Linked DNA regions of Homo sapiens: region 2 is linked to region 1. Evidence: promoter capture Hi-C in human tissues and cell types (Jung and others, 2019). All regions are on one chromosome and are shown on one strand. Each heading gives the region's core, a stretch centred on a gene start or on the middle of the fragment in contact. The rest is flanking DNA. Distances are from core to core; before and after follow the strand shown.

Region 1 (7,854 bases), core at 3,106-5,605:
AACTTTAAATTTTTTAAATTATTTTCATAGAGACCTGATTAAAAACATATCCATGTTTATTTCTGTGAGAAACAAATTAAGATTATACCCTATAAAATAAATAAGTTGAGTCATCCTGATGTTTAGAGCCATCCTGATAAGAAACGTGGTCACCTTCTTAGCATCCTTAAAAGATTTCCAGAAAGGCTAGCTGAAAATACATTCCCTACCTCCAACAAATGACTGTTAGAGGTTACTTCTCATCCACCTAAGCAGATGTAACAGAAAATGGATAGTCTGTCTACTTGGGGCTTCTAAACGTTGTTCGGCACTGAAGGTTGACTTTGGAGACTGGGTCATGAAGCTTGACCTCTTAATTACTGACCTTTTGTTATACATGAAATTCCTTCCTTATTTTCTTGTTCCTAGATCACACCAGATGATGCCAGGGATAAAAGACCGCTGACTGTGATAAAAGACCCTTTGACCATTACATCCTTAATGTGAAATGTTAAATATACCCTTCCCCCAAAAAGAAACACTGCCTATAACTAATTGAATTGCTCTAACTATGCACTAACCTCGTACGAAAAATGATGTAACCCTGTTAAGCATCCCCAGGCCTTGCCTATGTAAAGGACCCTCAAACCTCTCCACTTTGGAGCATTTACCTCATCCTTCAGGAGTCTGTGTCCTCCTGTGTGACCATCCTCAAGTTTTATGCTCAAATAAACTCAATTTTTAATCATATTGCCTAAATGTCATTATTAACATTGACATGGAGCTGATTATCACTCCTTTGTTTTACCTCTATACCCAGTAAACATAACTGTAACTGCAGTAACTATACCCTGTCACCATTATTTATTTATATATTTTCATCTTGAACTTGACCATGAGATCCTTGATGAAAAAAACAACAGTCTTATTTATCTTTGTTTCTCCACCACCAATGGAAATATTAAACCCAGTATCATCTTACCACAGATTCCTTTATCAAGGCTTCCTGAGAGTCCTTAAAGATCAAGGATGTGCAAACTATGATGAAAGAGGTGGGGGCTAAATCCAACCCTCAGTCTGTTTGGCACAGCCCATGAGGAACACTGCTTCTGCATTTTTAAAAGGTTGAAAAATAATAATAATATCTTGTGACATGCAAAAATTATATGAAATTCAAATTTCAGTGTCTATAAATACAGTGTTATTGGAACACAGCCATGCTCATTCATTTATGTATTATCTATGACTGCTTTTGTGCTACAACAGTAAAGTTATTGAGACAGAGACCATACTGTCTGCAAACCTAAAATATTTACTATCTGGCACTTTACAAAAAACGTTGGTCAACTCCTGTAAAAAGGAAGAAGAGGGGAAGTGAGAAAAGTGGCATATTCACTTAACATTTACTGAAGGATTTATGCATCCAACATTATGAGGCAAAAAAAATAAAGTTAGACACTGTCACTAACTTTGCAGAGAGATAAAATTTAATATAATGTGATAAGAGAGAAAGAGCCTGGAAAGGAGTGGAATGGAATTTCCAGGCAGAAAGAAAAGAATGGTAAAGCTAGACTCCCAAACAAAAGGGCTTGACTTTTGTGAAGAACAGGGATACCTGCCATATGGCAGAGGCATAAGGCAAAGTGAACCGGAGCAAGGGGTGCAGATGTATGTTCTAGATAACACGGTAAAGGCAGGCATTGGGAATGGATTATGAAGTTTCTGGTATCCAAAATTAGACACCCTAATTTGTGCACTCATATCTTTCCTCTACTGTACTTTTCACAACTGTGAGTCATGTTTAATTTCCTAGCAATCACATATTCCACTAGTCCATCACTTTCCCAATCCCCAAATCTCCAAAGCTTCCATCTGTAGGATCACCCTCAGATTATGACCTTGAATCCTACTTTACTGAGAAAACTGAAGCAATTAAAAGAGATTTCCAAAATCCACCACAAAGTAATGTTATACATTTCAACAATGTGCCATTTCAGCCTAAACTGAAGACTGATTTCATTACAACTCTGAAACACAAGAAATTAAATGCAATCTGGTATTAGCTACACTTTTAAACTAAGATATTTTTGGAATGAGAAATTAGGAACATATCTGGCACATGAAACAAACTCCTGCCTAGCTACATCATTTGCTTCTCAATCAATGAAATAAAAGCACTACAAAATATGCCTTTTAGCTTAAAAAGGGATAAATTATAAATGCTCTCATCTTCTTTATTGCTTTAAAATTTACTGTAAGGTGGTGCAATAATAAAACAAAATGCAGTCAGGTGCAGTGGCTCACGTGGCAATCCCAGTGGGAGGAAGGCTTGAGCCCAAGAGTTCAAGATCAACCTGGGCAACATAGAGAGACACTGTCTCTACCAAAAAAAAAAAAAAAAAAATAGCCAGGCGTAGGGGCACACAACTGTGGTCCCAGCTACTTGGGAGGCTGAGGTGGGAGGATCACTTGAGCCTGCGAAGTCAAGGCTGCAGTGAGCCAAGATCCTGCCACTGCACTTCATCCTGGGTGACAGAATGAGACCCTGTCTCAAAAAAAAAAAAATGCTAGTTGTCAATATAATTTAACCTAAATTTTATCACAGTGTTTCTTGCTGAGGGAGAAAATAACAATGCAATGGTACACAGAGGACAAGTCATCCAATAAATTTTCTTATGCATAATAGGTCCTTAAAAGCTTGCCCTTAAAACTATTTTTAATCCAACTAATTTACATACTAGAAAAGTTATGACTTAGTACAATATCATAAAATTCTTTTATGCAATCACCCTCTCAACTAAACTCAAGGACAGAGATTATAAATTGTATTCATATCGGTACTCTTGGCACATAGTATGGTATCTGGAATGTAAAAGACATGCAACAAACCAGCCTGGGCAATATAGCAAGACTTCGTCTCTGAAAAACAAATAAAAAATTACCTGGGCGCAGTGACACACGCCTGTAGCCCCAGCTATTCAGCAGGGTCCCTAGAGTCCAGACGTTCAAGGCTGCAGTGAACTTTGATCGCACCACTGCACTCTAGCCCGAGACGCTGTCTCTTTAAAAATAAAAGACATGCAATACACATGGAATGTACTAATAAATTTGCTCTTATAGTGAATGTAAGATTTCCCTACACTAAATCTGTTTGAAAGGAAATATACTCAAACAGCACATATGCAAAGATTAACGCCTCTTTAGTTTGATTTTAACACAAATACCCACAAAGCCCTAACTGCCCTAATAATGTTCCCTACTATGGAGTCTTCCCTAAAACACATACAATATTGCTCTCCCGGCAAACACAAAATATACTAAATAAAGCACCAGAATTAGGGTCTGGCAGCCCGGGTTGGAATCTCAACTCCATCCTTTTACTAGCTGAGACCTTAATAAGTTACTTAACCTCTTTGAGGCCCATTCTCCACACCTGCCCAACTGGAATAACCCCCTCCAATCCTACAGGGTTGCTGTCAGAATGAAAAGAGCTAATACCGAGCCTGGCTTAAAGCTGTAGTCCAGCAAATACTCCTCTTCCCTTAGATTCCTTCAGAACGCCCTTGTAGAAAGTAAACGTGGTTATTATCTTCATTATTTTCGGACTTATTTATTTAAAACGTAAATCGAAGCCTGAGGAGCCCAGGGGAAAACCTCCTTCAGCTTAATAGCTCCAGCCTGCCCAGCTTTCCGATCCAATTAAGTATTTCCATGCCTGGAGCTCCTATTCGTGTTTTAGGATCAGGGAATTTCCCTCCCAAACTGTGTCATGAGATCTGCGCATTTTCTTCTCACTGAAACTCCTTTTAACACGCAAGGTAATGATCCGCGCGTAACCTCGCAGGGAAGAGCAAGCGCTCATTACCCAGCTGTTCAGACGGAAATTTACATCAATATTTGTTTTCCTTCTTTCCCTGAGGTTGCTGAGGGTGGAACGACAGCGTCCAGGCAAAGGCAGTGTCCCGAAGTCCCACGGCCGGACCCGGTCCCAGGGGAGCCTCGCGGAGCCCCCGCCGCAGGGCCCCGACCCCCTCACGTCCGCATCCTGGGCGCTCCCACCGCATCCCCGAGGCTGGCAACCCGCGCTTCCCGGGAGCTGAGGGAGGTCTGTTTCCCTCAGCTCGCCGCCTCTGCCCGCTTCCGAGCCCGCTTCACCCCACACCTCAGACGCCGAACTCCCCTTCTCTCCCCGCCGTCCCTCGCTGGCCAGCCCCTCCTCGTCCCCTCAACTCCCCCAGGGACGGCTGTCCCAGGCTAGCCTCAAGCGCCGCCGCCGCCCGCGACGCCCGCCTCACCTCAGGGCCCGAGCCGCAGAGCTGTCAGGCCTGGACGCGCTCAGTCTGTTGACTCAGTGCGGGTGACCCAGCTGGGATCTGTGCGAGGGCGCGGCCGCGCGCACCCGCGCGCTCCTGGCGCAGGCAGAGCTGGCGGCGCCGAAGTCGCGCCCCGCCTCCTGCAGAGCGCACCTGAGGGCGGGGCTCCTAGAAAGCGCCGCTCCGCGTACGGGCGCGCTTCAGACGCTCGGCCCCGCGCGTCCCGGCGCACGCAGGCAAGCAGCGCGCCCGGAAGAGGAGAGCGGCTGAGGGTGGGGCGAGCGGTGGCGCGCCGCTGCCCAGGGCCCCTGAGCCACTAGAGTCGGGCCTCGTGGCTCTTCCCCAGGGCCTCCCACGCCTGGGTTCTGCGGGGATCTCGCCACGCTCTTTCTGGAGGCACGGGCAAAAACCACGGCCTCGTGTCTCAGTGGTAAACCTGCCGCCTCTTAGCGGGTGACCTTGGCCCACGGCCCTCTCCTCATCTGCCTCGCCCAGTCACGTCTCCTCTTAAGCATCCTTGCCGTCTGTCTCCTGGCATTTGGATGGGCCTCTCTGAACGCGTTTTGAGTCCTCTGCAGCCCCGCTTCCTCCCGCCGCGGCATCTGGAGTGCTGTGGCCCCGTTTCCGTAACTCTTGCCTCCCCTCCCCAGCCTCCTCATTGGCCCTCACACCCCGACCTGGGAGGTCCTCCCACTGAGGGTGCTTGTAGTTCGCGGAGTGTCCTCATCAAAGACTGGGAATGCGGCAGATGCTGAATTTTCCAAACGGCCTGAGACACATGACATCTGTGAGAGACTGGATACTGCACTTACTTTGCTAAAAATATAATCTAGTGTTTTGAGCTTCATTACTCAAAGTGACCTAAATGGGGTCAAAAGTTATTAACACTAACATTACGTATTTTCCTCTCCACATTTCTGTATAGTCACATTCCCTTGCACAAAGACTTTTTTTTTATTCTGTCAATCCTGTGTACATCATGTTTTTTTTTTTTACTTGTCTTTGTGTTATCTGCTTCTCGAATTTAAACCAGGTCTCCCCAACATGCACTCTGCTTTCTAAATTCTTAGGGGAAAAACAAACAAACAAGGAATCAAGTTTTACTTATGGAATATGAATTAAATAGAAAATTCAAAGAGGTTCGTCAGAATCCTTGATGATTAAAACAGCGGTCCCCAACCTTTTGGGCACCAGGGACCAGTTTCATGGAAGACAGTTTTTTCTGGGGGAGGGAGGATGGTTTGGGGATGATTCAAGCACATTATATTTACTGTGCACTTTATTTCTACTGTTACTACACTGTAATATGTAATGAAATAATTATACAACTCACCATAATGTAGAATCAGTGGGAGCCATGAGCTTGTTTTCTTGCAACTAGACAGTCTCATCTGGGGGTGATGGGAGACAGTGACAGATCATCAGGCATTAGATTCTCATAAGGAGCACGCAACCTAAATCCCTCACATGCGCAGTTCACAATAGGGTTCTCGCTCCTATCACAATCTAATGCCACTGCTGATCTGACAGGAAACGGAGTTCAGGCCCTAATGCCAGCCATGGGGGGCCCCTGTAAATACAGATAAAGCTGCACTCACTTGCCCTCCGCTCACCTCCTGCTGTGCTGCTTGGTTCCTCGCAGGCCACAGATCCCGGTAGCAGTCTCTGGCCTGGGGATTGGGGACCCCTGGATTAAAAGATCTAGCAATGGGGATGGGGGAAAGGGAGATAAGTATATTCAAAAAACTACACCAGGAAACTAAAGAAGGCATGTAATGAAAACTATCCCTGATATATTCTGTCTCTTTTGGAAACATCTAGAACATTTTAGTTACAAATTCTCAATGGCCTAGGATTTGGGGCCAAGTAAAGAAATATACATGAAAGATAAACTTGGTTAACATGTTACTGAACCATACTTTCACCCCAACACTTCTCACTAGTAGCCTTAACCTGCCTTAACTTCAGAAGTCTACTCATTTCTACTACTATTCTAGGCATTTATTTCTTACATTTCTTATCCTTGTAATGTTCTCTGTCATTCATTCTGTCTGCTCATGCTTTTACTCTTGTTTCTAAATGACATGACCAAAACCCAATTCTCCAAAAATCTCATCACCCTGGACAAAATGATCTCACTCTCCTCCCAATTGCCTACATACTACCATCTTGTTCACATCATTTTATTTACTTACCATCTCTTCAATTAAATTGTAAATAGTCTTAGGTTAAGAGCTTTTTCTTGACTTGTCTTTTTCTTTTCTTTTCTTTCTTTCTTTATTTTTGTGACAAAGTTTTGCTCTGTCACCCAGGCTGGAGTGCAGTGCCATGATCACAGCTCACTGCAACCTCTACCTCCCAGGTCCAAGTGATCCTTCCATCTCAGCCTCCTAAGTAGCTGGGACTACAGGTGCATGCCACCACACAGGCTAGTTTTTGTATTTTGTTGTAGAGACAGGGTTTTTCCATGTTGCCTAGGCTGGTATCAAGCTCCTGGGCTCAAGTGATTCTCTGTCCTTGGCCTCCAAAAGTACTGGGATTACGGGCCTGAGCCATAGCACCCAGGCGAAAGCTTCTTCTTATACCGATTTAAATTTCCAAGTCCTATGCATCATAGTATACAGTAAATATTATTAATGCTTCCAATGAGAAAACACATATAATAAGCAAGAATATTCAAATATTTTCATTTCCCCCACAAAATGTCACCACCCACTCAACAAGGGCTACCTACTCATAAAAGGGAAGATATCAAATTCCCCTTATAGGATGAATGACAAAATTATGATGGTGATATTGTTTGGCTCTGTGTCTCCAACCAAATCTCACCTTTAATTGTAATACTTCCCACATGTCAAAGGTGACCAGGAGGAGACAATTGAATCCTGGGGACAGTTTTCCCCATGCTGTTCTCATGATAGAGGGTGAGTTCTTACAAGATCTGATGGTTTTATAAGGGGCTTCCCCCTTCACTCGGCACTCATTCTCTCTCCTGCTGCCCTGTGAAGAGGTGCCTTCTACCATGATTGTAAGTTTCCTGAGGCTTCCCTCACCATGTGAAACTGTGAGTCAATTAAACCTCTTTTCTTTATAAATTCCCTAATCTTGGGTATGTACTTATAGCTGCCTGAGAACAGACTAATACAGATGTAATGCAGTTGTAAGAATAATTTAACAGAGGGAATACTAAATAAGACCTATTAATAAAAAGATTGCCACAAATTGATGTATGGACCCTGACATATTTTACTGTCTGTTTGAACAGGTTATTTATCAAACTATTTGTACCTTGTAAACAATGTAGCCATATAATCTCAATCTAAATTTCCATAGTTACCAGGTCCCAGTACTAAGTAAGCAGCTTCAGGGAAGATGTTCCTTTCTGAGCTTCCGTATCTAGGAAAGGGAAACAAGCCATACTGATGGGTTGCCATGGTGGCAATTCTAGTCCCCACATCTCATTAATACATTTCTTAGACAAATAAATCAGATGGGAATACATAAATCATGGGAGTTGTAGATTGAGATTTCACAAGTTGCCTAGCTGTACAAAATTAATGGT
Region 2 (7,854 bases), core at 1,531-4,030, 210 kb after region 1:
ACTACAGAATGAGATTTTCTTCCTCTTTTTCCTATATATCTCTTTCTTATCGTAGGGGTTTTAAGGAGTTCTTGAGTTGGGTTGTGTTGACCATGTCAGCCTTGTTTTGAGATTCATCATAGAGAAGTCTAATAGAGAAGTCTTGCTTTCTAGTCCTGCAGAAGGGTTAACAAACGAGTTCGCAAAAGATTGGAATCTTAGCCGGTTTACACTTTTCATTATAAACTCTTCCTATAGGTTCACAGAAGGAAGTCACTGGAAGTCAACTGCCGAGTGCCAGATCAGCTGGACTTCCCTTTGGCTTTTTCTCCAGGCCTATTTAAGAAGCTGTGGGCCCAACTGACCAGTCTGATGGCATATTGAAGGGTAGTGGAGGCCCACTCAAGCATCAATATTGTCTGACTCAGGGAAACTAGCATAAAACACAGACAGTCAAATACAGTCTCCTACTTGTGTAGGAAGGACAGTAAAAAGAGGCACTAGATGTTTATTTAGCTTTTGACAAATGTATGCCTTGAAACGCGCAATGTGTTTTTATTCTGTGGATGTACCAAATAGCCCTTCTTGGAAATGATCGGGGGAATTCAAATAGGCAGAAATCCTCTGGTCAGCACAAACTACAAGCTAGCAATTCTCAAGACAGCATGAGCTGTTTTTTAGTGTCAGCTATGGTCAGAAGCGTGTGTTGTGGCATTTGGAAAAGGAATTAGGGCAGTTAGCTAATTGCACGCTTGAAAATGAGAAGCTCTTTGAAAATTCAAAAGTCTGATTCCAGTTCAAAAAGAAATTGGTGTTGCTTTGAACTCCAAAGTTGTTATTGTATACTGAATTTCAAGTACTTCCTACTAAACATGGAAAATTTGCTTTCCCCCCAACCTTATCCTGAGTGTATTGCTATTCTTAGCCCATGTTTTGAAGTGTTCTTGATTTAAAAGATGGAGAGAATGGGTTATATCAGTTCCATTAATTTAATAAACAGCCTTGCTTTGCGGTGTAAGTATTTTCCATCTATATTCTGCAGTAGTGTTTGGGGTAGATTGTGAGCTTTCTAATCAGGGGCCATGAGTCAAGGAATAGCCTATTGACCAGTTAGTCTTGGAGGTTTCAGGAATCCTTAACACTTTATGATGGATCAACTAGGGTACTTTCCCCATATTTTCTTTATACAGAGTTAACAAAAATCTGGAGATTTTTTTTTTCTTTTTTGATACAGTCTCACCCTGTTGCCCAGGCTGGAGTGCAGTGGTGCAATCTCAGCTCACTGCAACCTCCGCCTCCCAGGTTCAAGTGATTCTTGTGCCTCAGCCTCCCTAGTAACTGGGATTACAGGCTCCTGCCACCATGCTCAGCTAATTTTTGTATTTTTAGTAGAGTCGGGGTTTCACCGTATTGGCCAGGCTGGTCTTGAACTCCTGACCTCAAGTGAGCTCAAGTGATCCACCTGTCTCACCCTCACAAAGTGTTGGGATTACAGGCATTAGCCACTGCACCTGGTCGAGAAATCTTTATAAGCTGTTCCAGAAGTGAAAAGATAAGATATCCTGACTCAAAATCAGTATTTTAAAAAAATACAGCATTTAAAAAAAATACAGTATTTTTAAAAATGGAGATGTTTAAGCTCATCTATCTGTTGGAAAGAGACAGTCATTTTATCTTTTCTGCTAAATATAAGGTAAAAAATCAGCACATTTTTACATTTGAGAAACAAGCTTTTCTTCCTGACATTGCCTTGGTTCTGTTGTTGACCAATGAAAGCTAGTAACGGAGTGGGCCTGGGTCCTCAGTGAGAGTGTTCCAGATGCAATGCGGAGTTTAAGGTCTAAATAGAGACAGCCAGAATCAACCATCTGAATATTGAGTGTGGATTTAATGTTGTGCTTGCACTTTTTGTTATTTACTTAGCGTGTTACATTGTTCCAGCGATAGAGAAGCATTTCTGGTTTTTGATTTGCTTTGAACAATAGTGGGAAATTCAGGGCTTCTAGCCTGTTTGTTTTTTTTTTTTTTTTTTACCAGGGTCTGTGTGCAAGTCAGCAACGCTCCTGGGATCACATTGCTTCTTCTGTGTTTCTTTCTAGGTAAACTAGCTCTTGAACTTAGAAAGAAACACTTTTGCTTCCTGGGGTTGAGGGCAGGAGACGGTCGTGGTGAGAATGTGCTTAAAGACAAAGACAAACCAGCTGGAGATGGTCCTTTTAAGTGAAGGGGAGAGGAAGCCGCAACAAGGAGGGACCACCTATTACACAAAGCACAGCGTTTCTTAATCTCTGCACTCATGACATTTTGGGCTAGAGTGTTCTTTGTTGTGCGGGATTGCCCAGTGCATTACAGGATGCTTAGCAACATCCCTGGCCTCTACCTATTAGATGCCAGTAACACCCTGCCACCAGATGTAACAACCAAAAATGCCTCCTGACATTTTCCATATATCCCCTGGGGAGCAAAATGACCTCCAGCTGAGAACCACCCACGTAGACTCTCAGCATCTAGGTACCTACAAAACCATCGGTGGGAGTTACACGGACTCATTCATTTCACTCAGCACACATTCCCATATCAATCAGACTTTGCCGCCTGTTAATTCCTCTTTCTAATGCGCTCTTATTTTTATCCTCAGTTGAGATGAAACTTTCTCTCATAGGTTGTCTGGTCACTGAGGTCACTAGGTCCTAGGTCTGCCCTCAGTTCCAGGTTGAAACTTCTGTCCTCACATCTACCTGTAGCCTGTCTCAGGTTCCCTGGCTTCCACCCACAGCATTGCCTGGAACAAACTGGTAGGCTGATTTTAAGTTGTTTTGGTTCAAAAACTTTCTCTCTCTCTTTTTTTTTTTTTTAATTTTATTTCGTTTTAAACCACAGTTTCTCAAAGTGCCTGAACTACTTCGCTCTCTCATGGTTCTGTACCTTACCCCGTCATGCTTAGCTTCGGAGGGTGAGGCAGAGCTCACGTCACACATGCTAGGTCTCATTTGCTCAAAATGATCCCTTAGCTCAAATCCCAGCAACCTAACAATCAGTTACATTTTGATTCCTCCAACTCCAGGCAAAATTCCTTTCCATTCCAATGCCAGGCAAAGCTCCTTTCCATTCATGTATGATTTTGTGGTCCGTTGGGCACAGGAGTCTGTAGGTTGCCTTGCAAATCATAGTTTTCAAAATCATCTTTTTCTGCATTCTGTAACCTGGGATTCCAACTCCAAGTAAATTGTTTCTTTTCTTTTCTTTCTTTCTTTTTCTTTTTTTTTTTTCATTTTAAGGCCAGAGTTGGATAGAGGATAGGGATGGGCTGAGAATGGGGTGATGGGTTGGTCTCTTCATCTTACAGTTTTATTACTGTTAAATAATAAGTAACAGCATTTATTGCCTCCGGTATCAAATGTTATTAAATGTCTGTGTCAATGGAGAGCAGAATAACCAGAAGTCACCTGACAATAGCGCATGACCATAAAGTATTTCTAACAAGAATAATTGCTGTCACTGAGTGCGCTCTCTCTTTTATCAGCTGTCATAAACAGGTCTTATTACCTTTGTCATAAACAAGTAGTATTACCTTAGAAATGTTATGGGGGGTTGGGCACAGTGGCTCACACCTGTACTCCCAGCTCTTTGGAAGGCTGAGGCAGGTGGATCACTTGAGCCTAAGACTTCGAGACCAGCCTGGGCAACATGGTGAAACCCTGCCTCTACAAGATACAAAAATTAGCCAGGCATGGTGGCACGTGCCTGTAATCCCAACTACTCAGGAGGCTGAGGCAGGAAGATCACCTGAGCCTAGGGAGGTGGAGGCTGCAGTGAGCCGAGATTGTATGCCCCTGCACTCCAGCCTGGGCAACAGAGCCAGCCCCTGTCTCAAGGAAAAGAAAATAAATATTAGGGGTTTATTGCTTCTATCTCAGGCAGATTTGGTTAGGACTATATAAAAGCAAATTATACATTCATGGGAAACAGAAGCAAAAAGAACCAGGTACCTGACAGTGAAGAGATAACAAATGGCAATGTAAGAAACACTTGCCAATTTCTTTGTCTGTGGAAATGGCATTAAAGCTGCTTTGAAGGAAAGTAGATTTTTTGAAATAAAATGGCTATAGATCAGAAAAATTAGTGTGCATATCATCGGTAAAGTATCAAAAGGAAAGTACACACACACACACACACACACACACACACAACTATTTTTCCCATTAAGGCACAACCAGGGTGATTTAAAACATGATACATAAGTGTTACAGAAGAGGAAAGTCAAGATAGGAGGCTGTGTTTTCAATACACTTTTAAAGCTGATTATGTTTAGTGTTCTACAGGTTCTGAAATCCTTGTCTAATGAAAATATATATGGCTTCTAGATTTTAATGATTATTTTTTTTTCTTTAAGCTTAAAGAAGAATTCCAAAGAACGGCCTACATACCCAGAGCTAATGGTGAGTATTGTTAGCAACGTAAACATGACTATACTGATAGCTACAAAAGGCAAAGTCACTAAGACCTAAATTATCATCACATCACCATATTGGAAGAGTTGGTTCATTGATACATCAGTGACAGGAATTGAACTCCAGGAAAGAGAGTTAAAGAGTTCATCCTACATCCTTCTTAAACATAGGTTGGGACCTGTCACTATTCTTAGTAGTTTTTTTCCAGGCTAATAAACCTGTCATGATACAGAGCAAATTATGTGTATACAATTTATATTTTTGAATTTAAAAGATATGAGAAGCCTCATATTACTAAGATAAAATTAAGGAAAGTATGATTTAAGAGATTTCAATACTGAGGAAAACTTAAATGCTCTTTGACTGATCAATTTTTGATCAAATATCTGGGCTAAATTAGATGAACAACTTTTTGGGGGGTAGCTAAGGAGGAAAAAAAATTTTGCTTTTTGTTTTCACTTTGGTGGAAAAAAGTAAGACAAAGCATGATTAGTTTAAATTATACTCCCTCAGCATTCACAGTTTATCACTTGCTGTGTCTATAAAAAGCAAGAGTGAAGAAAGTAATATCTTAGCATTGTTTGTTGTATTAAAATAACGTTTCTTAAATTGTGGTAACTATAGGCCGGGCATGGTGGCTGTTCATGCCTGTAATCCCAGCACTCTGGTAGGCCGAGTTGGGCAGATTGCTTGAGCCCAGGAGTTGGAGACCAACCTGGGCAACATGACGAAACCCCACCTCTACAAAAAGTACAAAAAATTAGCCGGGCATGGTGGCATTTGCCTGTAGCCCCAGCTACTCAGGAAGCCGAGGTGGCAGGATCACTTGAGCCCAGGAAGTTAAGGCTGCAGTGAGCCGTGATTGTGCCACTGAATTCCAGCCTGGGCAACAGAGTGAGACCCTGTCTCAAAGAAAAACAAACAAACAAACAAACAAAACTCTGGTAACTACAATTCTAAGCTAATTACTAATGATTCTAAAAGCTAAATACAAATGGCAAGGACCTAAACTTGGCAATGCTTTGCTTTATCTAAGTATATGTTGAATGTAGGAGAAACACATTTTTGGGGGGGAGAAATATATAAAATTCAGACTATTTGCTAATTTATGTTAATTCCTAGATTTGTTTCAATTATCAAGGTTTTCATTTTAGCAGGGGAAGGAAGAGTTACGTTCATGCACAATTTCAAAAGCAATAAAACACTGACACCCTTTCTTACTGGAACACAGTTATTCATCAGGCATTAAATGCTTGCTCCTCTGCTATCCCAGCCACAAGCCCTGCTGTCTTCAAGACCAACTCAGGGCATGTCTTAGAAGCATGGATTCCTAGTGTCAAATGCTGTGGTGAGGTGGCTTAGATATGAGGAAGCACAGCTTGGAAATGTCGAGTCAGGAAGAGTTACAGAAAGCTGATCAGGAAGATGCGTGATAGTTACAGCCAATCACATAGGTTTTCACTTCTGTTGCCTAAGCTTTGATTGAAGATTGAACCATTTTGCAACTGGATGAATTGGAGATGAGACCATCTCATTGGGCCTCCATTGGGTGCATTAAAAGGCAGCCCCTGGTGCTCAGCACTCTACCATCTTTATTCAACTAAAACTCACAGTTAAAGAAGGAAATATGAGTAATGTTTGAGAAAATCCTAGCATAGTACATGTTTAAGTTGAATATTTTCTTCCCGATTATTTTTTAATAGCCAGTCAAAGGCTTTTTTGGTTCTGTTTACTCTTTTTAAATATGCTTATGCACCCGCTAGGCCATTTTAAAATTAATTTCATATAAAATACAGTAGATATACAGTTATTCTTGTAGGATACTATGGAGCCTGTAATCCTATTTTATTTATTTATTTATATTTTAATTTTTATTTTTTAGAGATGGAGTCTCATTATGTTGCCCAGGCTGGTCTCGAAGTCGTGGGCTCAAACAATCCCCCGGCCTGGGCCCCCCAAGTAGCTGGGACTACAAGTGTGCACCTGTACTCCTATTCTAAAGTTGCCATGTTTTGTAACTAAGTTCAGATAAGAAGAACATTTTCTATATATTTCTGGCTACTTTTTCTTCTTCCAAATGGTTTCGGATCAGAAATTTCACTGAAACACACTTGAGAAAAGAATGCTTAATATACATGGGCAGCTGATGTCAAATTCTACATTTGTAATATGTTCTAACCCTGTGATATTTTATGGCCTACATATATATCAATGTTATAAAATCATGTCAGTCCCCCTTTTCTTCTTACAGCATTAGTCTTTGTGGTACTGGAAATGGACTTGCCTTTTAAGACTATAACTGTTCCCTGCTTTCCTGTGGAACTGAGGTTTTCAAACGGAAAATCTGAGTCCAAACTCCCTGACTTTAGCATTGGGAAAACACTTGCTGAGAGGCAATTGTTTAGATTTTAGGAGTTGGTGAGGAAGTATGAAGGAAAAAAATAATCCTTTTTCCAGGTGAAGGACAGTTTAATTAAGGCCTTAACCTAGACATGTCCCTCTTATAGAAATCCCAAATGTTTCTCTCCCTAACACGGATTGAAGGGTGTGTATTCTTTAAGATCATGTCATTTGCTTCTTCTCTCAAATGTCACTGGGGAGTATGACTCAGTAGAATTTGTTCTTCTAAAGTAGGTAGCAGCCAACGATTTCTGTAAAGGACTAAATAGTAAGTATTTTAGTCTTTGTAGGCTATACAGTTGCTGTTTACAATGGCTTAATTCAGTGTTGCAATGTGAAAGCAGCCATATCCGATGTGTTAAAAAAAAAATGGGGTGTGTGTGGCTGTGTTCCAATAAAACTTTATTTAAAAAAACAAGCAGTGGGCTAAATTTGGCCTCTGGGTCATAGGTAGCTGATCCCTGTCCTAGATGATAATCACCAGAAAAGATAACCAGTTCATTCAAGTGATTGCCCAGTGAAATAATGTTCTCCAATTATCTTAGGAAGTTCTAGATTGAACTGTATGTTAAACAAAGATGCCTGACCCATTCAAAACCATAGTCTTAAGGGATGAGGTGCTGTGCATGGGACAGGGAGACCTGCTGGTGACTGTAGCTTGTCTGTCTATTCCTCGTAGTATGTTCACGGATCTCCATGTTTTCTTCAGGCACATCAGTGAGACTAAATGGTGTAAAGTCCTCCCTTCTTGTCTCCCTGGCTCCTCTTTTGGGAAACCCAGCCTGGTATTATAGTCTGAGTATTATTCATAGTCCCTCATTTGTCAATTTCCTGGTTGCTGCCCTTGCTAATCTTAATCCATTGCTTATAGGAGGGACTGGGTTCCCTCTTAACCTTTTACAGCCTCAAAACCCACACAAGAAGGCAAGTCACACTTTCCATTTGTCATGCCTACCCGTTTTCCCCTCCCCCTGCCCTTCTGGCTCTCATAGCATTTTCTCAACCTGGGAATAAATGGAAAGAT

The links. Contacts are between HindIII fragments. The study calls those that stand out against the background at their distance.
Region 2: a fragment that was not itself captured here is called in contact with the fragment with the promoter of ABCA5 in region 1 in 1 of the 25 tissues and cell types used here (dorsolateral prefrontal cortex).

The regions. Positions count from the first base shown.
Region 1 is chr17:69,322,778-69,330,631 of GRCh38, forward strand. It overlaps ABCA5 (ATP binding cassette subfamily A member 5), which reads right to left and starts at 4,356. Exons shown (of 39, transcript NM_172232.4): 1 at 4,275-4,356. RefSeq lists silencers at 4,043-4,132, 4,263-4,642 and an enhancer at 4,723-4,862. The HindIII fragment of the contact is 9,468 bases long and covers 2,261-7,854 here.
Region 2 is chr17:69,531,743-69,539,596 of GRCh38, forward strand. It overlaps MAP2K6 (mitogen-activated protein kinase kinase 6), which reads left to right. Exons shown (of 12, transcript NM_002758.4): 11 at 4,373-4,418. Among named protein-coding and RNA genes, the nearest start is that of MAP2K6-AS1, 50 kb to the left of the region's middle. The HindIII fragment of the contact is 4,717 bases long and covers 423-5,139 here.